7 separate regions of the Homo sapiens genome follow, and regions 1, 2, 3, 5, 6 and 7 are each linked to region 4. Evidence: promoter capture Hi-C in 16 types of primary human blood cells and fetal thymus (Javierre and others, 2016). All regions are on one chromosome and are shown on one strand. The core of a region is centred on a gene start or on the middle of the fragment in contact, and the rest is flanking DNA. Distances in the headings are between cores, read along the strand shown. Region 1 overlaps NXPE3 (neurexophilin and PC-esterase domain family member 3). Region 2 holds the start of ZBTB11-AS1 (ZBTB11 antisense RNA 1). Region 3 holds the start of TRMT10C (tRNA methyltransferase 10C, mitochondrial RNase P subunit). Region 4 holds the start of ALCAM (activated leukocyte cell adhesion molecule). Region 5 overlaps NXPE3 (neurexophilin and PC-esterase domain family member 3). Region 6 has its middle 2.6 kb from the start of RDUR. Region 7 has its middle 7.6 kb from the start of NFKBIZ.

The links. Contacts are between HindIII fragments. The CHiCAGO score rates a contact against its expected background, and 5 or more counts as called.
Region 1: a fragment that was not itself captured here is called in contact with the fragment with the promoter of ALCAM in region 4 in 4 of 17 cell types (total B cells, naive B cells, monocytes and 1 more); the score reaches 13.6 in total B cells.
Region 2: a contact is called between the fragment with the promoter of ZBTB11-AS1 here and the fragment with the promoter of ALCAM in region 4, in 3 of 17 cell types (total B cells, naive B cells and monocytes). The highest score is 11.4, in total B cells.
Region 3: a contact is called between the fragment with the promoter of TRMT10C here and the fragment with the promoter of ALCAM in region 4, in 1 of 17 cell types (naive B cells). The highest score is 5.1, in naive B cells.
Region 5: a contact is called between a fragment that was not itself captured here and the fragment with the promoter of ALCAM in region 4, in 2 of 17 cell types (total B cells and monocytes). The highest score is 7.8, in total B cells.
Region 6: a contact is called between a fragment that was not itself captured here and the fragment with the promoter of ALCAM in region 4, in 1 of 17 cell types (monocytes). The highest score is 8.9, in monocytes.
Region 7: a contact is called between a fragment that was not itself captured here and the fragment with the promoter of ALCAM in region 4, in 1 of 17 cell types (monocytes). The highest score is 8.3, in monocytes.

What each region holds. Positions count from the first base shown.
Region 1 is chr3:101,814,709-101,817,669 of GRCh38, reverse strand. It overlaps NXPE3 (neurexophilin and PC-esterase domain family member 3), which reads right to left. Exons shown (of 8, transcript NM_145037.4): 7 at 669-875. Among named protein-coding and RNA genes, the nearest start is that of NFKBIZ, 33 kb to the left of the region's middle. The HindIII fragment of the contact is 3,891 bases long and covers 1-2,961 here.
Region 2 is chr3:101,675,115-101,677,843 of GRCh38, reverse strand. ZBTB11-AS1 (ZBTB11 antisense RNA 1) reads right to left here and starts at 1,414. Exons shown (of 1, transcript NR_024407.1): 1 at 1-1,414. It overlaps ZBTB11 (zinc finger and BTB domain containing 11), which reads left to right and starts at 712. Exons shown (of 11, transcript NM_014415.4): 1 at 712-1,239. The coding sequence starts at 930. It overlaps LOC124906262 (endogenous retrovirus group K member 5 Gag polyprotein), which reads right to left and starts at 1,399. Exons shown (of 3, transcript XM_047449415.1): 1 at 1-1,399. RefSeq lists an enhancer at 1,020-1,574 and a silencer at 1,291-1,660. The HindIII fragment of the contact is 10,842 bases long and covers 1-2,697 here.
Region 3 is chr3:101,560,618-101,563,580 of GRCh38, reverse strand. It overlaps TRMT10C (tRNA methyltransferase 10C, mitochondrial RNase P subunit), which reads right to left and starts at 1,713. Exons shown (of 2, transcript NM_017819.4): 1 at 1,578-1,713. RefSeq lists enhancers at 1,578-1,647, 1,658-1,727. The HindIII fragment of the contact is 12,384 bases long and covers 598-2,963 here.
Region 4 is chr3:105,365,594-105,368,525 of GRCh38, reverse strand. ALCAM (activated leukocyte cell adhesion molecule) reads right to left here and starts at 1,617. Exons shown (of 16, transcript NM_001627.4): 1 at 1,045-1,617. The coding sequence starts at 1,117. RefSeq lists an enhancer at 1-92 and silencers at 1,123-1,242, 1,573-1,672. The HindIII fragment of the contact is 2,798 bases long and covers 509-2,932 here.
Region 5 is chr3:101,797,364-101,800,235 of GRCh38, reverse strand. The region is part of intron 4 of NXPE3 (neurexophilin and PC-esterase domain family member 3); the gene reads right to left. Among named protein-coding and RNA genes, the nearest start is that of NXPE3, 20 kb to the right of the region's middle. The HindIII fragment of the contact is 7,104 bases long and covers 1-2,872 here.
Region 6 is chr3:101,936,896-101,939,595 of GRCh38, reverse strand. No RefSeq gene overlaps it. Among named protein-coding and RNA genes, the nearest start is that of RDUR, 2.6 kb to the left of the region's middle. RefSeq lists an enhancer at 2,560-2,679. The HindIII fragment of the contact is 5,235 bases long and covers 1-2,700 here.
Region 7 is chr3:101,840,531-101,843,279 of GRCh38, reverse strand. It overlaps a transcript of NFKBIZ not described here. Among named protein-coding and RNA genes, the nearest start is that of NFKBIZ, 7.6 kb to the left of the region's middle. RefSeq lists a silencer at 361-655. The HindIII fragment of the contact is 1,070 bases long and covers 941-2,010 here.

The sequences.
Region 1 (2,961 bases), core at 68-2,567, 3.6 Mb after region 4:
AATGCCCTTGTGAAGAAGGGGTGGGCCTCCAACCACTGGGGTTTTGTTCTGAGTCTGGAGAACAGCCCCAGAGCCAAGCAGAGAAATCAAGAAGCTAAGAATGCTGGAACTTACCCAGACTCCCTCAGGAGGAGCCAACTCCATCTCAGAGTCACACCAATGGTAGGCCCAATGGATGACACAGGGATGGCTTTGCTGCAAGGATGCAATATGGACTACCATAGGTCTGGCTGCTTCCTTCTACTCAAAGCTACTATAAACTTGGAGTTGGATGAGACAGAACTAGGGGAGAAACAACTGGAAATGCCCACCTCTATTTTACAACCCAGAATATTAGAAGGGAAAGACACCTGTGAAGTGACATGGTCCAGCTGTCTCATCTCACACATGGAGAAATGAAGCCCTAAAAAGTAAATGACTTGTCCAAAGTCATACAGCTCATCAGTGACATAAACCTCAATGAGAACCCAGTGCTTCCATGAGTACAACACAACACAGCTATTGATCAGAAACTGTCACACATCTCTCCAGGGTTTGGGTACCTCTTTAGTCCTACACAGAAATATATGTTTCCTCACCTGATAACCTTTCTTCAGGCACCTGAGTGAGTCTGCTTATTTCAAAGCTGATGTGGGAAAGAGTTACGAAACAAAAGGCACAGTACCAACCTGGAACAAATGTAGTAAGGTATTCAAACCATTGCCTGATTGTTGAGTCACCAAATAAATGCACCACTTTTCTTTGTAAGCACTCTGTAATGTTGTCAGGGTCATTAAACTGACGCATCTTAAACTTTCTGGGCCTCCACTGGTCTTTATAATAATACCCAGAAGGAAAAGTTCCTGAGCCTTGAGATAGTTCTAGACTGTTAGTTTCTGCAAAGAAAAAAGAAAAACAAATATTTTAATATTCTCCTCCAACAATAGATGAAAAATGTCCCAAGAAACAATTATGCCCATGTATTTGTTAGCCTGATAGCATGTGGGAAACATTTCCTGCTGTCAGACCTCAAATCCCAGACTTTTCTCCTGATTAAAAAAAGGTTTTCCACAGCCATAAAAAAGAATGAGTTCATGTCCTTTGCAGGGACATGGATGAAGCTGGAAGTCATCATTCTCAGCAAACTAACACAGGAACAGAAAACCAAACACCACATGTTCTCACTCATAAGTAGGAGTTGAACAATGAGAACACATGGACACAGGGAGAGGAACATCACACACCGTGGCCTGTCGGGGGGTTGGGGGGAAGGGGAGGGAGAGCATTAGGACAAATACAAGGCTTAAAACCTAGATGATGGGTTGACAGGTGCAGCAAACTACATGTATACCTATGTAATAAACCTGCACATTCTGCACATGTATCCCAGAACTTAAAAGTAAAATTAAAAAAAAAAAAGGTTTTCCTTTGTACAAAAATGGGAAGATCTGAAATGGGCATGAAGGTATTGGTGGACAGAAAGGAAAGGAGGGACTTTCAGCATTCCCTCTGCTTACATTTTTTTTGAGATGGAGTCTCACTCTTTTTGCCCAGGCTGGAGTGCAGTGGCACAATCTCGGCTCACTGCAACCTCCGCCTCCTGGGTTCAAGTGATTCTCCTGCCTCAGCCTCCCAAGTAACTGGGATTACAGGCACGCATTACCATGCCTGGCTAAGTTTTGCTTTTTTTTTTTCCGAGACAGAGTCTCGCTCTGTCGCCAGGCTGGAGTGCAGTGGCATGATCTCAGCTCACTGCAACCTCTGCCTCCTGGGTTCAAGCGATTCTCCTGCCTCAGCCTCCCGAGTAGCTGGGAGTACAGGCGTGTACCACCACACCCAGTTAATTTTTGTATTTTTAGTAGAGATAGGGTTTCATCACGTTGGCCAAGATGGTCTCAATCTCTTGACGTTGTGATCACCCACCTCGGCCTCCCAAAGTGCTGGGATTACAGGCGTGAGCCACCACGCCTGGCCAATTTTTGCACTTTTAGTACAGATGGGGTTTCACTATGTTGGCCAGGCTGATCTCAAACTTCTGATCTCAAGTGATCCGCCCGCCTCGACCTCCCAAAGTGCTAGAATTACAGGCGTGAGCCACCATGCCCAGCCTGATTACATATGTTTTTATCAAAGCCAAATATAAAGGAAGACAAAACCAAAGGAAATGTGTGGACATAAGCATTTATCCAGCATTCTCCCAGAAGAGAACAGTTTCTCACCCACATGCCTGCGAGGCAAGTAACAACTTAGACTAATACTTTACACATACAGAGTAGTATTAGTTCACTGTTTTCAGCCCATTAAAAGCAAAGTTAGAATCCATGAATCCCATCTTCAAATTTTAATTTTAATTCCAAAAAAACACCACTTAATATGGAGAACAAACTAATGGCAGACAATCTAACGGATTATTCTCCATTATACAAAAGGTTCAGAAAGTCTTTATATATAATGAACAATGCTAAAAATACATCACCAATGTGTACCTCCTGGTTGTAACCTAGTTACACTTGATAACACAAGCAAAACGACCTTTCAGAGGGAAAGTCAACATCCTTCTGCCCTAACACCTCCTGTAGAAAATGCCACACGTTACATGCTTCAAAACAGACTGTGATGGCTAATATTTCTTGCAAGTTTACTCTGCCTCAGACACTATTCTGAGCAAACGTATTATCTCATATGCTCACAGTAACTCTTTGAAGTAGGTCCTATCACTATCCCTACCTTTCAGAACAGCTAAACAACTTGACCAAGGTCCCAGAGCTGAGCTAGTAAGGAGCAAAGCCAGCACCTGGCCCAAGCAAGTGAGCCCAAAGCCCATGATCTTAACCACTGTGTGCTAGATCACTTCTCAAAAACAGATGTTTATAGATGTTAACCATTTCTTTTTTTTTTTCTTGAAGGTATATATTTATTCATTTCTAACAATTATTCAAACCTACAATCTTCAAGAAACCACCAGGTTATATCATTTTCTTA
Region 2 (2,729 bases), core at 165-2,664, 3.7 Mb after region 4:
GCACGCACTGGGAGACGCAGCTCAAGTCCGCTCCCCTTCTTGCACCCTCATATATATTTGGTGCAAAATGGAGAACCTTTTCCCCTACGTTTGTGTAAAAATATATGTAAATAAAGCCTTAAAATAGTGTTACCGACCCCCTTTTCCACTCGCAATAACATTGACTATAAATGCTGATAATTCCAAAAGAATCTCGACTCTTCCTTGAGTAGTCTGGAGCTAGCAGGTGCAAGTTTAGAAACAATAACTCATCACTGAGGGAGGCACTGAAAATTTTATAACTGTTAACTGGAATCTAAATTTCCATGTAAATGGGCTGTCTCTGGTCCCGTGTCAAGAGACTAATATTTTTCCAGAAGCCTGAAAATATGCTTTTATGATGTTGGGAGTCTCAAACGTAAAAACGGACTCCTAACCCTCTGGATGTTTCGGCTGAACTCTCAACTGTCCACCAGCTCCCCCTACACGTGGCTCCTTAGAAAGCGTGGAAAAGGGAAAAATGAAAAGAGAAACTGCCAGGACTTAAGATGTCTGCTTAAAGACTCCCTCGAACTGCAGTGAAGGGTCCTACCCGCTTCCAAAATGTCCACCCGCATTCCTGACGTCACTGGATCGGCTCCATCAAGCCAGAAAACGAGAGTGCGCTCCAATCAGGGCTCAGTCCCCGCCCTTGCCTTGCGTCACTTCCGGTGGTGCAGCAGCCATTTTGTCAGTCGCCAGCGGATCCCGCGCGCTGGAGAAGTGCAGTTCCCCCTGGTTACCAACTCGCCCGCTTTTCCTTCGGACTAAGGGAGCCGTCGAAGAGCGCTCGCCAAAGGCGCAGCCGTTTCTCCCTACGGTGCCGCCGCTCCTCCTGCAGCCGCCCGTAGGTAGCGGGCCGTTTTCCTCACCTGTCCCTGACAGGCGCCCTCAGGGAGCCGCGGTCCGCGATGTCAAGCGAGGAAAGCTACCGGGCCATCCTGCGTTACCTGACGAACGAGCGCGAGCCGTATGCGCCGGGCACCGAGGGCAATGTCAAGCGTAAAATCCGAAAAGCTGCCGCCTGCTACGTGGTGCGCGGCGGGACTCTGTATTACCAGCGGCGGCAGCGGCACCGCAAGACCTTCGCGGAGCTGGAGGTGGTGCTGCAGCCGGAGCGACGCCGGGACCTCATCGAGGCGGCGCACCTGGGTCCCGGCGGCACTCACCACACCCGGCATCAGACCTGGCACTACTTGTCCAAGACGTACTGGTGGCGAGGTGAGACCTAGCCCGCGGCGAGGGGGCGGGCTGGCGACTCGTTGCCTGGGCAAGGCTCGCTGGCGAGGCCTATGCGTACCCACGAGTCGGAGGGTCTCGGACGCCTCTGGGCGGCGGAGCTGCTGCCAGGCGGAGCCGAGAGGGTGGGGGACGCGAAAGGAGCCGCACTTCCCACAGGAAGGAGGCCGGCGAAGCTGGGGGCGGGCCCTGGCCCTGGGTGGGACCAAGGGGGCTTCCCCGGAGGCCGGGCCAGCCGCGGGGAGGGGCCGGACGCCTGGGCTGCGCCAGGTCCGCCTCCTTGGGCGGCCCCTTGAGGCTGTAGGCCCCGGCCCTCTGGAGGTGGCGTGTGGCTCGCGGCAGTGGAGGCTGCGGGGTGCACGTTTTCGACTGTGCTGACGTTTGGAAGGGGGGACGAGTCACCCGAAGCCGGGTCTCCCGTTTCTTTAGTGCTGCGCTTGGGTTTTGGCGAGCGAGTATGAGCTGCTCTGGACACATTCGCTAGTGTTCCTCAAATTTTGCCGCTGCTGCGTAAATAAGGAATAATACAATTATTTGCAGAAGTGATAAGGAGTGATTGAGAAATCGCCTTGAGCGTTTTTTTTTAAGAACAAGAAGTAAATGTAAAAGATATCAGTTACTGTTTTTGTTGTTTGGTTTTGCGGGGGCGGGGTGTTTGAGTAGACACGGGTCTCGCCTCGTTCCCCAAGCTGGTCTCCATCTGGCCTCAAGCCATCCTCCCGCCTCGGCCTCCCAAAGTGTTGGGATTTCAGGCATGAGCCACGGCGCCCAGCTTGATATTCGTAACTCTGAATGTTTTAATAATCTTTCCCCTAATGATGTGAAAAACGCGTTTGGGAACTGTGTAGCATTGTATATACGCAGAAAAGGTACGATTACTGTGACTTTTTGATTGTCAAAAAATACAGCTCTGAAGTTACTTGACTCCTTGGGAACCAGTTGTAAGGGAGGATAGCAAGTGTCCTTGGCTTCTTAACCATCTTCACTCTCCACAGTTAATGAATATTCAAACTGTCAGAATTAGTTAATAGTTTATAGTCCCATTTAAGAAATTTTGTTAGGAACAGTGCTGTCACTCTCCAATATGGCTACAGAAAAGTTATTTCATTCAAATCTTGGTTACTTCGTCTGTGAATAACGAAATTACTGAATAGTTTCTAAAGTTCTTTTCGGTTTATAAACATCATCAAGTTTATTCGTTTACGAACTATTGGATAATCAAATTCTTCCATTTATTTTCCACTTTAAACCAATATCTGAATTAAATTCCTGTAAGGACAGACAAATGCGAAGATTAAATTATGAGGTAATGAAGTAATCAGTGCATTTTGTTTGGATGGGTTTGGGTAGACATTAGTTTGTTGAACAAATGTCTCAGATTTAATACTTCAGGATTTGTTAAAGATGATAATTGTAACTATAGGTAACATTGATCAAGCTTGTATATGCAGGATGTAGTCGTTAGCCCTTGA
Region 3 (2,963 bases), core at 464-2,963, 3.8 Mb after region 4:
AAAGGTGGATGTAACTCCGCATTCTATCCTATTCTTTTTTTTCAATCTATACATTTCCCTTCTGAGATGTGACCTACTTCTGTGGCTTCAATGACCATGCATTAGAAAGACATCTCAAATGCAGGCCGGGTGCAGTGGCTCACTCCTGTAATCCCAGCACTTTGGAAGGCCGAGGAGGGAGGATCGCTTGAGGTCAGGAGTTTGAGACCAGCCTGACCAACATGGCGAAACCCTGTCTCTACTAAAAATACAAAAATTAGCCAGGTGTGGTGGCGCATGCCTGTAATCCCAGGTACTCGTGAGGCTGAAGTGGGGCGATTCTTCTACTTCCCAGGTACTCGTGAGGCTGATGTAGAAGAATCGCTTGAATAAGGGGGGCGGAAGTTGCAGTGAGCCGAGATTTTGCAACAAAATCTGTTGCAGTGAGCGACAGAGTAAGACTGTCTCAAAACAACAAAAACAAACAAAAAACACCTCAAACGCAACAAATCGAAATAACCCCTCTACCTTTGCTTCACAATCTGATCCTCCTTCAATGTTCTGTTTCAAGGGATATTGCTATCCATTGGTATTGTTCCCAACATATATTTCTAAGCTTATTGCGGCCAGGTCAGCAGCATCTCTAGCTATTCTTCACCTCACACTTCAAGTATTCCACCATTACTTTTCACAGCACTCTGGTGCCTATGACAGTACTTCTAACACTGCACTGTAATTGCCTGGTTATCTATTTGCCTCACTAGATGGTAAGGACTAACTAGTGTCCATGAGGACAAGGACTTTGTCTATAATGTTAACATTGAATCCAATGCTTGACAGTATTTGGCTCACAGTAATCACGCAAATATTTTTCTAATACCCTAGATCGATGCTTCCTTCATTAAAAAAAAAAAAAAGAAAAAAAAAGTTCAGCCTCCCTTTATTATTTTTTTTGAGACGGAGTCTCGCTCTGTCACTCCAGGCTGGAGTATAGTGGCGCGATCTCGGCGCAAGCTCCGCCTCCCAGGGTTCACGCCATTCTCCTGCCTCAGCCTCCCGAGTAGCTGGGACTACAGGCACCCGCCACCACGCCCGGCTATTTTGTATTTTTAGTACAGACGGGGTTTCACTGTGTTAGCCAGGATGGTCTCGGATCTCCTGACCTCGTGATCCGCCCACCTCGGCCTCTCATTGTGCTGGGATTACAGGCGTGAGCCACCGCGCCCGGCTCAGCCTCCCTTTAAAGAGAAAACAATTTACTTTAGAATCCCGGAAATATTTAACTGGGGTCCCCAGGCCCCAATCTAATAAACATTGATTTCAGAAGGAGTTTTAAAAGTTTTATTCTTGTAACTGGCAAGGACTTAGAATACCACAGAAATGAAAACCCCAATTGTAAAAAGCAATCAAGTACATCATTTCAGGAACCACTGATTTTGTTTCAGGTACTGTACTAGTTATAGTTTATTAAAATCACTGGGCTTCCTCTTACCCGTGGGCCTTCCGAACGCACATGCTCCACTAAGTGCATCTTGGAACGTCTCCGGCGTCCTCCCACCCCCAACACACACATTAGGCGAAAGAAGAAACTCGCTTACCAGGAGTGCAGAGATAGTGGTTCCCGCTGGCGCAAAGAACAGGGACCCTGGAGGACGAAGGACTCCGACGTACGGACGCCCAGGGATCCGCGCCGAAGCTAGCACGCAGCCTACCCAACAGTCTACACAGCCGACCAGAGCGGTCGCTGGGGCTCAGCCGGAAGTTCCGCCCTCTCCCTTCCGGCGCTGCTTTTTACGTCACAGCACGCAAAGAACGCTTTCTTGGCTAAAAGAAGCGCCTTAGAGGAGACGGCTGTCAGTAGGCAACTGGGTACTCGAAGACTACGCTCTCAGTTGTCACGGAGTTGTAGCTGTGTTGTGTTGTGTTTTCCTCCATATATCCTAAAAACTTCTTCTGGGCCGGGCCAGTTGGCTTACGCCTGTTATCCCAGTGCTTTGGGCGGCCGAGGCGGGCGGATCACTTGGGGTCAGGAGTTTGAGACCAGCCTGGCCAACATAGTGAAACCCCGTCTCTACTAAAAATACAAAAATTAGCCAGGTGTGGTGGCGCGCGCCTGTAATCCCAGTTGCTCGGGAGGCTGAGGCAGGAGAATCGCTTGAACCTGGGAGGCGGAGGTTGCGGTGAGCTGAGATCGCGCCACTGCACTCCAGCCTGGGCGACAGAGCAAGACTCTCTGTCTCAAAAAAAAAAAAAAAAAAAAAAAAAAACTGTTTCTAATCCTCTTTTCAACCTACTCTCTGTTTGGGCCCTGTATTTATAAACATTTGCTGACAGAGTACTAAAATAAAGTATGTTTTTTTCACACGTCTTCTTACTCAGCTTCAAACTCCTTGACGCTAGGACTTTAAACTCCTAATCTTTTTGACCAGTTTATCACCAGTACCTGGCACTATGCTTGGAACGTGATAAGCCACGGTAAGTTTCTGTCTCCTCCTAGCTCATTTGGAAAGTTTAATGTGAAATGAAATTAAAACACATTTGTAAATTGGTGGCCTTTGGGGCCAATTCAGCCTCCACATATATTTGTAACCAAACACAGAATGAACATATTCTGCAGCCATTCTACTCCTAGTAATATACCCAAAGAAATTGAAAGCAGAGACACAAACAGACACTTGTACTCTAATGTCATTGTAGCATTATTGATAATAACCAAAAGGTGGAAGCAACCCAAATATCCATGAACAGATGAATAGATTAAAAAATGTTGCATGTACATACAATGGAATATTATTCAGTCTTAAAAAGGAATGAAGTTCTGATACATGGTACAACATGGATAAACTTTGGAGGCATTATACACTGAGATAAGCCAGGCACAAAAGGACAAATATTGTATAAGTCCACCTATATGAAGTGCCTAGAATAGTCAAATCATAAAGAAAGAAAGTAGAATAGTGTTTACCAGGGGCTGGGGAAAGGGA
Region 4 (2,932 bases), core at 368-2,867:
AGTAGGAGTTTAACTGGCAACTGTCTACGCAGGGATAGAAAAAAAAAACTTCAAAGAAAAAAAAATCCCCTAAATTTTCAGTTTAGGGGAGCAAAGGAACCTGCTGCTCTGTCAGGCAACTGTGAGCGCACGGAATACCCTGTTAGAACAACTTGTGTCAGCCGCCAGGCGGGCCTGAGGATACCAGGGCCAGGGGACGTCCCCGAGGGTGTGGAAAGGGATTTCCCGAGAGATATTTTAGTTGTTGGGAATTTTGCCTTTTCTCTCTCTCTCTCTCTCTCTCTCTCTCTCTCTCTCTCTCTTCCAAGACTCAGTACAGAACTGAGAACTGAGGCTCTATGAGCAGGTCCTGGAAATTCACAAACCTCTCACTGAGGTGTCTCCCAGGCCTACCTACTAATTCCTGTTCTGGCTGTGTTATCTGCCTGCGGTCACCCTTTCACTCACCACCCGCCCAGACAATGGACGGGGACCGCAGGGGGTAACGTTGAAACCACGATTTTAAGCTTTAGCAGGTTTCGCAAGGGGGGCGGGGGGAGGTGATTAAAGTCCTCTCCTTCTCTACCCCTCCCATCCCTTCCTCGGCTCACCAAGGGGAAGTTACTAGGGGATTTATCACGAAAAAGTGCCGGCAGTTATTTCATCCGAGAACTAAGCGAAAGAAAAACTGCTCGGGGCGCAGTGACGTGGACTTGGATACCCAGAGACAGGAGGAACTGTCAGAGGGCAAGAGTCCGCCGCCTAGCTGGGAGCCGCAGGGACAAGGGGAGAGCGTCAGGCGAATCCTGCCCACCCCGGAGCACCAAGTTCCTGGAGATTCACCCAGTTTCCCCAGCTTGATGCCCAAACTTGAGCTAACCAGCCAAGCCCAAACGTGCGGCACAGGTGACCGAGCCCGGGGACAGCTCTGTGCCAGGACAGCGGTCCCCTTACCTCCACCACGCGCCTGGGCGCACTGCCTCGGGGGTGCGAGGCTGGGACGGGGACCTAGGAAACTGCTCCAGGCCCACGTCTGTCTGGGGCTGCTCCCAGGCCCTTGCTCACCTGGCCTGAAGACGGTGGCGGAGATCAAGAGGCAGAAGAGCAGACGGCAGGAACTGGCCCCCTTGGATTCCATATTCCTCCTCCTTCTTGGTGGGCCACTGACGGAGTCCACGCCGCAGGAGGGGGCGTCGTCCCGGGCCCCGCGGTGCCCGCGCGCTGGCGGGTCCCGACGCAGGGGCAGCGTCTTCTCCCAGACACACCGTCCCCTGGGCTGTGGCGCTGCACCTTCGGTTCTCTGCCGCACGCAACTTTCCACCACGCAATGCCCCCAACTCCTCCTCCCTCCCGGTCAACACCAGCCCACGGGCCCTTCGGCTGCTCCTCCGGGGACAACGACCCTCTGTTTCCAGGAGACACTTGAGTAATTCGGAAAGGTGTAAGCGGTTCTTTTCGCTGGTATCTTCTTTTATTTTCCTTGTATTGGAATGATAATAATAATGGCAGTGGCAATGTGCATGAAACGCCAGGTGCTAAGAAGGACTCGCAGGAGGCGGCGACGGGGGGGCGGCGGGTCTCCTCAGGTGGCAGCGGTGGTAGCAGCGGCAGCGGCGGCAGCGGTCTCCGGGCTGCTCTGAGTAGAGGGACTGGAAGGCGTGTGTAAGCTGCCTCTTTCCTCCTCTCCCCGCCTCCTCCCTCCCTCCCGTCTCCTCCCCACTTCCCCGGACGCAGCGCAAAGCAGGTGGTTGAAGCGCGGATCCGCAGCCTAGAGGCGCTGCAGGACTGAGTCCGAGCCCTGAGCCCAGCTCCGGGATCAGGGAGAACCGCGTGCCCCGGTCCTGGAGCCCGGATGAGCGGTGCTTCACCGCGGCTCCGCCCCCAGGGCCAGGTCCGCCAATAAGAAGCAAGCACAGGAGCCGCGCGCGCCAGGGAGAGCCCTGGGACTAACACTTTCTGTGATGTTGCAGCGCCCCAGTGATAAGGCCTCTGGCTTCCAACTGCCCACCCACCCTCGCTGAGGTTTAAAAATCGACTGCCCTCTCCCTCCACCCATACGCCCATCCCACTGACTCATTCCTCAGAGATTTTTCTCCGCCGTGCTGCTGCAGCCTTCTGTCCTGTAAAGAGAATAGTGGGGCAGGGCGGTGGCGGTGGGGAGCGAACCTTGGGTCCAAGAGCGGGAGTGAAGGGAAAAGGAAAGGAAAGGGCAGGAGGAAGTGGCAAAGGTGGAAACTTGCTTCTTGGGAGTTAACAGGAATAGCTACTTGTTGGCAGGGGCAACCCCTGTACTGGACTGATTCCTCCTGTACTTTTCGAATCTCTCTCCTCCCCCTGCTCACCCCCACCACTCCCCTCACACCCGGCTGGCATAGACTTGGTTTTAAAGGAAGACTACGTGAGTCGACTGCCCGGTACCAACAGAAGATATTTGCTTTTCCCGGGGGAAATTAAATCCGGAATTTCTAAACCGTACTTCGTCATACGGATTTTCCCAATGTCTACAAAAGCCCTCTAGAGAGCGTGTCACTTTTTTACTTTGAGTTAAGCGGTGATTTTAAGTTATAGACAGAAAATCCTCAAATTATTTCAGATTAAAAGCCAAGTCCGTCTTGGTCCGTTCCCGAAAGCCAGGCACTCCAGCAGATGGACAGGCTTCTTAGGCAATTTCTAAAGATTGAACCACCTCCCAGGAGGAACATCGGGAAGCTGTGTTGCTTTCAAATCAGGCAGAGAGCATGAAGGAAGATTTTCCTCTAGAACACCGGGGTGGAGCTGTCGGAGCCCTAAGTGGCTCTAAATCAGGGATGCAGGATCACAACTCTCATCACCAAAGAATAATAAAATCTTGGTCCCTGAAGCACTTCGCTGGGGCATTAAATAGCCTTTCGTGCATCACAGGGTCACCCTTTTGTGAGACTGGTCTCCAGCAGAGGATGCCAACTAGTAATCG
Region 5 (2,872 bases), core at 363-2,862, 3.6 Mb after region 4:
TAGAATGAAGCAAGAGAAGTGCTTAGAGGGAAATTCATAGTACTATACATATTTTAGGAAAGAAAAACAACCTAAAATCAGTAATTTAACCTTACATCTTAGCAAACTAGAAAAAGAAGAGCAAACAATATCCAAAATAAGCAGAAGAAAAATAATAAACATGATAGCAGAAATCAATGAACTTGAAAACAGGAAATCAATAAAGAAAAATCAATGAAACCCAAAGCTGGTTTTTTAAAAGATTGATAAAATTGATAAGCCCTCTACCCAGGCTAAGAAAAAAAGAGGGAGGACACAAATTATTAATATCAGAAATGAAAGAGAAGCCATCACTACAGATCCCATGGACATTAAAGGAATAAAGGAATATTATGAACAATTCTATGCCCATAAATTTGATAACCCAGATGAAATGGACCAATTCCTTGAAGGATACAATCCATAAAGAATGCACCTAATGATGCAAAAGTAATATTATAACTAGTGGAAATCAAATATAAAAGAATGAAGTAGGCCAGATGCGGTGGCTCACACCTGTAATCCCAGCACTTTGGGAGGCCGAGGCAGATGGATCACAAGGTCAGGAGTTCAAGACCAGCCTGGCCAACATGCTGAAACCCCATCTCTACTAAAAATACAAAAATTAGCTGAGTGTGGTGGCAGGCGCCTGTAATCCCAACTACTCGGAAGGCTGAGGGAGAGAACTGCTTGAACCCAGGAGGCAGAGGTTGCAGTGAGCCAAGATCGCGCCACTGCACTCCAGGCTGGGCGACAGAATGAGACTCCATCTCAAAAAAATAATAACAAATAAATAAATAAGAATGAGTAGGGCTTTCTTCATCACTTAGAGCAGGAAGTTAAGATATATTATGCTGTTGGGGAAATAAAAGGACTAGATACATTATTTAATGTTATATATAGAAATAAAATTAATTTTACAAATTGTGGAAGGAGAATGAAGCAGAGGCCTCATCTTTCATTATGTTAACAGTAGTAGATCAGGTGCAGTGGCTCATGCCTGTAATTCCAACACTTCGGGAGGCTGAAGCAGAAGAACTGCTTGAGGCCAGGAGTTCAAGACCAACCTGGGAAACATAGCAAGACCCCCATCTCTACAAGAATTTTTTTTTAAAGTTAGCCAAGCGTGGTGGCATATGCCTGTAGTCCTAGCTACACGGAAGGCTGAGCTGGGAAGATCACTGAACCCAGGAGCTCCAGGTTGTAGTGAGCTATGATCACACCATGGAACTCCAGCCAGAGCAACAGAGCAAGACCTTGTCTCTAACAAATAAATAAATAAATATAAATTAAAACTGGGCTGGGCACAGTGGCTCACGCCTGTAATCCTAGCACTTTGGGAGGCAGAGGTGGACAGATCGGGATCGTTTGAGCTCAAGAGTTCGAGACTAGTCTGGGCAACATGGTGAAACCCTGTCTCTACTAAAAATACAAAAATTTAGCTGGGTGTGGTGGTACACACCTGTAATCTCAGCTACTCAGGAGGCTGAAGCACGAGAATTGCTTGAACCCAGGAGGCAGAGGTTGCAGTACGCTGAGATTGTGCCACTGCACTCCAGCCTGGACAACAGAACAAGACTTTGTCTCAAAAACTTTAAAAGAAAAAAAAAAAAAATATATATATATATATAGACACACATATATATACATTATATATATAGACATATATCTACATACATATATACATACATATATACACATACATATATATGTGTATATATATGAGGATTGCTTGAGCCCAGGAGTTAGAGGTTACAGTGAACAATGACTGTGCCACCGCACTCTAGCCTGGGCAACAGAGTGAGACCCTGTGCTTAAAAGAAAGAAAAATTAAAAAACAGCAGTAGCAGAAACAGCCAACATTTATTGTGATCACTTATGTGCTGGATACTCTTGTAAACAGTTTACATGAATCTTTAAATTCAATGTTCAAATTATCACATGTGGTAAGTCCTGTTATTATGTCCATTTTAGAGACAAGGAAACTGAGGCAAAGAATAGCTTAATAAGCCAAAAAACACATGAAAAAATGCTCATCATCACTGGCCATCAGAGAAATGCAAATCAAAACCACTATGAGATATCATCTCACACCAGTTAGAATGGCAATCATTAAAAAGTCAGGAAACAACAGGTGCTGGAGAGGATGTGGAGAAATAGGAACACTTTTACACTGTTGGTGGGACTGTAAACTAGTTCAACCATTGTGGAAGTCAGTGTGGCGATTCCTCAGGGATCTAGAACTAGAAATACCATTTGACCCAGCCATCCCATTACTGGGTATATACCCAAATGACTATAAATCATGCTGCTATAAAGACACATGCACACGTATGTTTATTGCGGCATTATTCACAATAGCAAAGACTTGGAACCAACCCAAATGTCCAACAATCATAGACTGGATTAAGAAAATGTGGCACATATACACCATGGAATACTATGCAGCCATAAAAAATGATGAGTTCATGTCCTTTGTAGGGACATGGATGAAATTGGAAACCATCATTCTCAGTAAACTATCGCAAGAACAAAAAACCAAACACCGCATATTCTCACTCATAGGTGGGAATTGAACAATGAGATCACATGGACACAGGAAGGGGAATATCACACTCTGGGGACTGTGGTGGGGTCGGGGGAGGGGGGAGGGATAGCATTGGGAGATATACCTAATGCTAGATGACACGTTAGTGGGTGCAGCGCACCAGCATGGCACATGTATACATATGTAACTAACCTGCACAATGTGCACATGTACCCTAAAACTTAAAGTATAATAAAAAAAAAAAATTAAAAAAAAAAAAGAATAGCTTAATAATTTGCTCAAGGCCATGTAGGTTAGAAGCAGCAG
Region 6 (2,700 bases), core at 19-2,518, 3.4 Mb after region 4:
AGGGAAAAGAATGAGATCAGTATTTATTTAGGACTCCACATAAAATGTGCAGCTCTCATCCAATCCTCTCAATTGGCTAGGTAGGGAATGTTATATTCCCTGCTTTATACATAAGGATATCAAGACTCTGGTGAGCTTAACTAACTGGCTCAAGACCAAAAGGGTAGTAAGTAGCAAAACCATGATCTGAACTCAGACTTATCTGACAGCAAAATAGATGCTCTTCCCACCCTGTGTACCACAAAGCCTATAGAATCTTCCTTACTCCATAATTTAGTAGGCACAGGGTGTGAGAAGTAAGGACGAATAAAAAATTACTTGTGAGTTGTGAAAGATGATTCATTAATAGTGGTGTCATTTATAAAAACAAAATAGAGACAATCAGTTGGAGTTTGGAGTTTGATGAACATAAGTTAATGGGCTTCATTTTAGATACACTGAGTTTAAAATCCTGGCTGGTTACCTAAGTAAGAAAGTCTTAACAGCAATTGGAAATTGCTAGATTTTAGAATCATCAGGAGAAAGATTTTGAGATGAAGGGAAAAAAGATTGAAGAAATTCATGTGTAAAGCAATGTGAGTAGATAAGAAGTCACATGAGGCAAAGAATGTGGAGAAGATTTTATTTTATTTATGGAGCAGTAGAAAGAAAAAGCAGCTAGTGAAGGAGGTGGAAGAGAAGTTTCCAGAAAGATAAAAGAACCAGCAGGCTATGGTATCACAGAGGCTATAGAAGGAGAACATTCAACAAACTGAAATTTCTGCAGAGACAACAGGGAGAATGAGGACTGAGACAAGTCCATTAGATTTGTTGGATATGAAACTAAACTCTCAGTGATTTTCCAGAAGGTGGTTTCATAGAGGGGTAAAGGTAGAAACCATATTACAAGGGGTTAAGAAGTGAATGTATAAGCAGGAAGTGAAAGCAGAATTTGTATTCTTTTAGAAGAAGTGTGGTAATAAACGGAAGAAAGATAAGGCAGTAACCTGCTACAGCAGCAGGGTCAGAGGGGGGTTATTTTAGGATACAGAGGGCTGGCCATATTTGTGGCAGAGGAGGAGAGATTGGAGATTGAAGATGGAAGAAAGATAGGGCTTAAAGGATGGAGCAAAACTGAGAGGAGGTGAGCAGTAATAGAATTAAGAGCAGTGTTCTTGGCAAGGAAAAAAGCAAGTTACCTTGTGCTGAGGTAGAAAAAAGGAAAAGAGGGTAACCCTTCAAGAGATATTGAGAGAATTCACGTGGACTGTCCTCATTCTCAGTAAAACATAAAATGAATAGCCAATATCAGGAAGAGAAAAAGATTTTCTCCAAAAGACTGGAGCTCATATTCTAAAGGGAAGAAAAATGTTTATGTTGGTCACAAATAGAAATTCAGTTTTGCAACATTATCAAACTTCAACAATTTCTCAGGGCTACTCTCTATAGCATGTATTTCCTTTCCCAGAATCAAAGCTGTTGTTCTCTAAAAGTACACGTATTTCCCTTGGACTGCATGGTTATAATTTGGACAAGGAAGATAGCCCTTTTGGTTGTCAGAAATAAAGCAACTCTCTGGACTCTTAACTGTGTTCTTTTGAGAAGAAAGTTCAAGATGTTCACTTAGTAATGTTTGCCAAAGCAAGCACTGTTCTCAATGTTTTTTATCAAAGCCTATCGATTATATGATTTTAATTTGTCTACAAGTAACCAATACCATCTTTTAGCAAAACATTCTATTTCATGTGGATTAGAAACAGAAATTTTAAAATAGCCTCAGTTACTGGAGCTGTTTTCCTAGTCCTTTCCATTGTCACCTTTAATCACTAAGATTATAATTATTATATAATTATCATTATCATTCATTGATCTGATACTCCTTGTGGGATATACAGTGTACATGAATATTATTTAATCTCATAACCTTATAGTGTAAATATAATTATTGTCATTCCCACTTTGCAAATAAATAAATAAGATTAGGTCACATAACTTCTCCAGGATCTCAGAGCTAGTAATGGTAGAACCAGTACCAGTCCTAGTCTGATTTAAAAGCCTGTGCCTCTAAAGACTAAGCTGTACCACCTCACAATTCAGTTGGATATTTTGTTACATACAGTTTTTTCTTGTTCTCTAATTTCTTTGGTTACTTAAGAAGTCTCCTTTCTGTCCCCCTCCTCACCATGACAGTATAAATTCTTTGAAATCAGATACAAAGTCTAGTATCCTTGAAACAGTCTAGAATATTGTACATACTCAAAAAATGTAAATGTAAATTGAAATAAGAGTAAAATCAACCCAGAATCTTGCGCCATTTTTCATCACATCTACTTTGTTTCCACTACACTTCCTATGCTCACCACCCCTCTCATTGGTTTCAAGAGAACATGCAAGTTTGAGAATGTAACTATATCGTGAAAAATAACACCATAAAGTGGCTTCTATAAATAAGACCGTTCTTGTCAACTGTGTAAATGCAGTGAAGATGAATATAGATTTTTCTCATCAACAATTACACAGGAAGATTGGAGCTGAAAATTCCCTGATTCCTTCCCCTTAGAGATGATGTTCCCTGGTTCACTCAACAGCTGTTCATTGAGTGTCTTCTACTTGCCTCACCCAGTTCCTGCCTTCTGAGTTCTCAGACAAGTAGGGGAGACAAACAGGTGTTATACAATTACAGAAGAGCCTGGTAATGCCGGAACAGAAGTAGTAAGGATG
Region 7 (2,749 bases), core at 226-2,725, 3.5 Mb after region 4:
CATGTTTTGTAGAGATGGGGTCTGGCTGTGTTGCCTAGGCTTGTCTGGAACTCCTGGCTTCAAGTGATCCTCCCACCTCAGCCTCCCAAGTCACTAGGATTACAGGCGTAAACCCCTGCACCTGGTCAACTGCAACAAATTAAATGCAGAAGCAAATATGAAAATCTGTCTTCTGTAAAACCGGATGTTAAGAAATTTGCAAAGATGTGAAACAATACTGTTTGCATGAAGTTTTTTTTTTTTTTTTTTTTTTTTTTTTAGAAAATACAGTTTTTAAAAATAAATTAGTAAGTACAGATTTAAATAATTTTTAGGGATCGAATGTAGGCAATGTCCTATCAGTCAACTCAAAAGTTCCAGATTGGACTCATAATTGTTGAACACCTGGTTCTGAAACCCTCCTCTCTTCTCCATCTCTAATTTCCACTATCCAAGACAGGCCTTTATCTCTTACTTGATGCAAATGATCACCCATCCAGCCTTGCCCACTTAAAACCCATCCTCCAGACTGCCATCGGCATACCAATGGAATGCTGGAATGCCAGGAATTCTTCTAAGAATTCCTCCACACCAGGGGTGTTCAATCTTTTGGCTTCCCTGGGCCACACTGGAAGAAGAATTGTCTTGGGCCACACATAAAATACACTAACACTAATGGCAGCTGAAGAGCTAAAAAAAAAAAAAAAAGAAAAGAAAAGAAAATGAAAAAAGAAAAAGAAAAAACATCACAAAAGAATCTCATAATGTTTTAAGAGAGTTTATGAATTTGTGTTGGGCCACATTCAAAGCCATCCTGGGCCACATGCAGCCCATGGGCCACAGGTTGGACAAGCTTGCTCTACACTATTTAAAAATCCTTCAGTGGCTCTCTACTGCTTTTAGCATGGAGTCCAGTCTTCTTAGAATGACAGATGTCCAAGTCCTGCCTTCCTCACAAGCTTCATCTTCCTCATTACCTTCAGTAACACGAAACTGAGTATAGTTTCCCACAGCTCTGAGACTTTGCTCTTGCTGTTCTTCTCTCCTCTTCCTCAACCAAAATCTCATGCTCACTTAATACCCAACACTCACTCAAGACTCACTTAATATCCAACACTTCTGGAGCCTTTCCTGACCCTCCCTTCCTCCCCTGACCCCAACTCTCAACCCCACTTCTGGACTAAGGGCCTTTCCTCTCAGTCCCCACACAGACTTCTATCATAGCTCTTAGGATGTGCTAAAATTAACCATTTATGAGTCTGTCTCCTCTATTCCACTATAAGCTCCCAAGACATGTATCCCTTGTCAATAGCCAAGTACCTGTTACTTAGTAGGTAGTTACTTGGTACATATTTAACTGGATGGTAGAAACAAGTGGAAATGCTTCCAAAATTATTTTATGTCAATACCGTACAGACATCAAAACAAATACTTTGGCCCCTTGAATTAGAATCTCCTCATTCTCTGCACTTGGATTATTATAAAACTATTTTCATCTATCTTGTAAATATAAAAACCCAGCTGCCTTTTGCCCAGAATTCTTTGTAAAGAACATAAAATCTTTCAGGAGCTTTCAAAACAGATATCATCTTATATGTTGATTTGTTGAATGCTTTTCCTTAAAAATAATAATTTATTATCCCCATAGCAATGTAAAACATACTTCAACATCTCAAGAAACATTTAAACTTCAGGGTATTCTAACAGATTTTTCTAATGCAGATGAGTAAATCAGACCACATATTTTCAAATTCTAGTTATTCTTCAATATGGTAGTGCTTTATAAATGTCAGGTACTTTTCTAAGTACTGGGGCACAGCGGTACCTCAGACAAACACTAATCTCTGTCTTTGTGGAGCTTATACCTGGCTGTATGAACATTCTGGTCCATATGGTATCCATGTAATAGAAACAATTACTACTTCTGAGACATATGAACTCAGTTCTACTGGCACTTATATACTTCCCAATAGGCCACCTGACCAACCAGGCTATGGCACAGACAGCTGTAGTTAGTAAGTTCTGTAAGCTTTTTCCTTACAAGAGTGTAACCTATTCTTTTGTATGTTTTAATCTGGAAAGATCAAAAGGTTGTCTTTAAAAGTAATTCTCTAGGTCCTGTTTGCAGCAAATTATTAGCACCTGATATCAAAGCACAGTATACCATATTGAGGAAATTTCTCCAACCAGTAACCTAATCATCATACAGATGAATTAGCAAAAGGTTTGCACATCTCAGAACATCCTGCTCAGTGCTAAGAGAATAAACTTGATACCCCGTTAAGTACTGTATGTATAGTATGTACAACTTTGCATATTATGGACTGATTGTGTGAAGACAAAATTAATAGTGTCCCCGGAGTCATCTCTCTGCAACTTCCTTTTATATGAAAGCATCAAAGGAGATGCCATATACCACTTTGTCCTCTTCACAAATATTTTCTGAGCACCCACTAGGTGTGAGTGAGTCGTCCACTATGTAAAGTAACTCCACTGCTTTCCAGCAGGTACACAAGGTCTGTCCCCTGATGGGCAGCCAGAGAGGCACCTTGCACAAAGTCAGGTCACACAGTTGAACATCCCAATAAACAGATGCCTTATAAACAGACCCTGAATCACAGCAATGCTACAGTACCCTGAAATACCTTTGCAGCATCCCATCTTTCTAGCCCAGCAGAAATCCAAGTGTTTAAACTGAAAACAAAACAAATTTTTCTTCCCCTTTAACATTTCATTTCTAAAGAAATGAAAAGTTCTTCCATTTGATTTC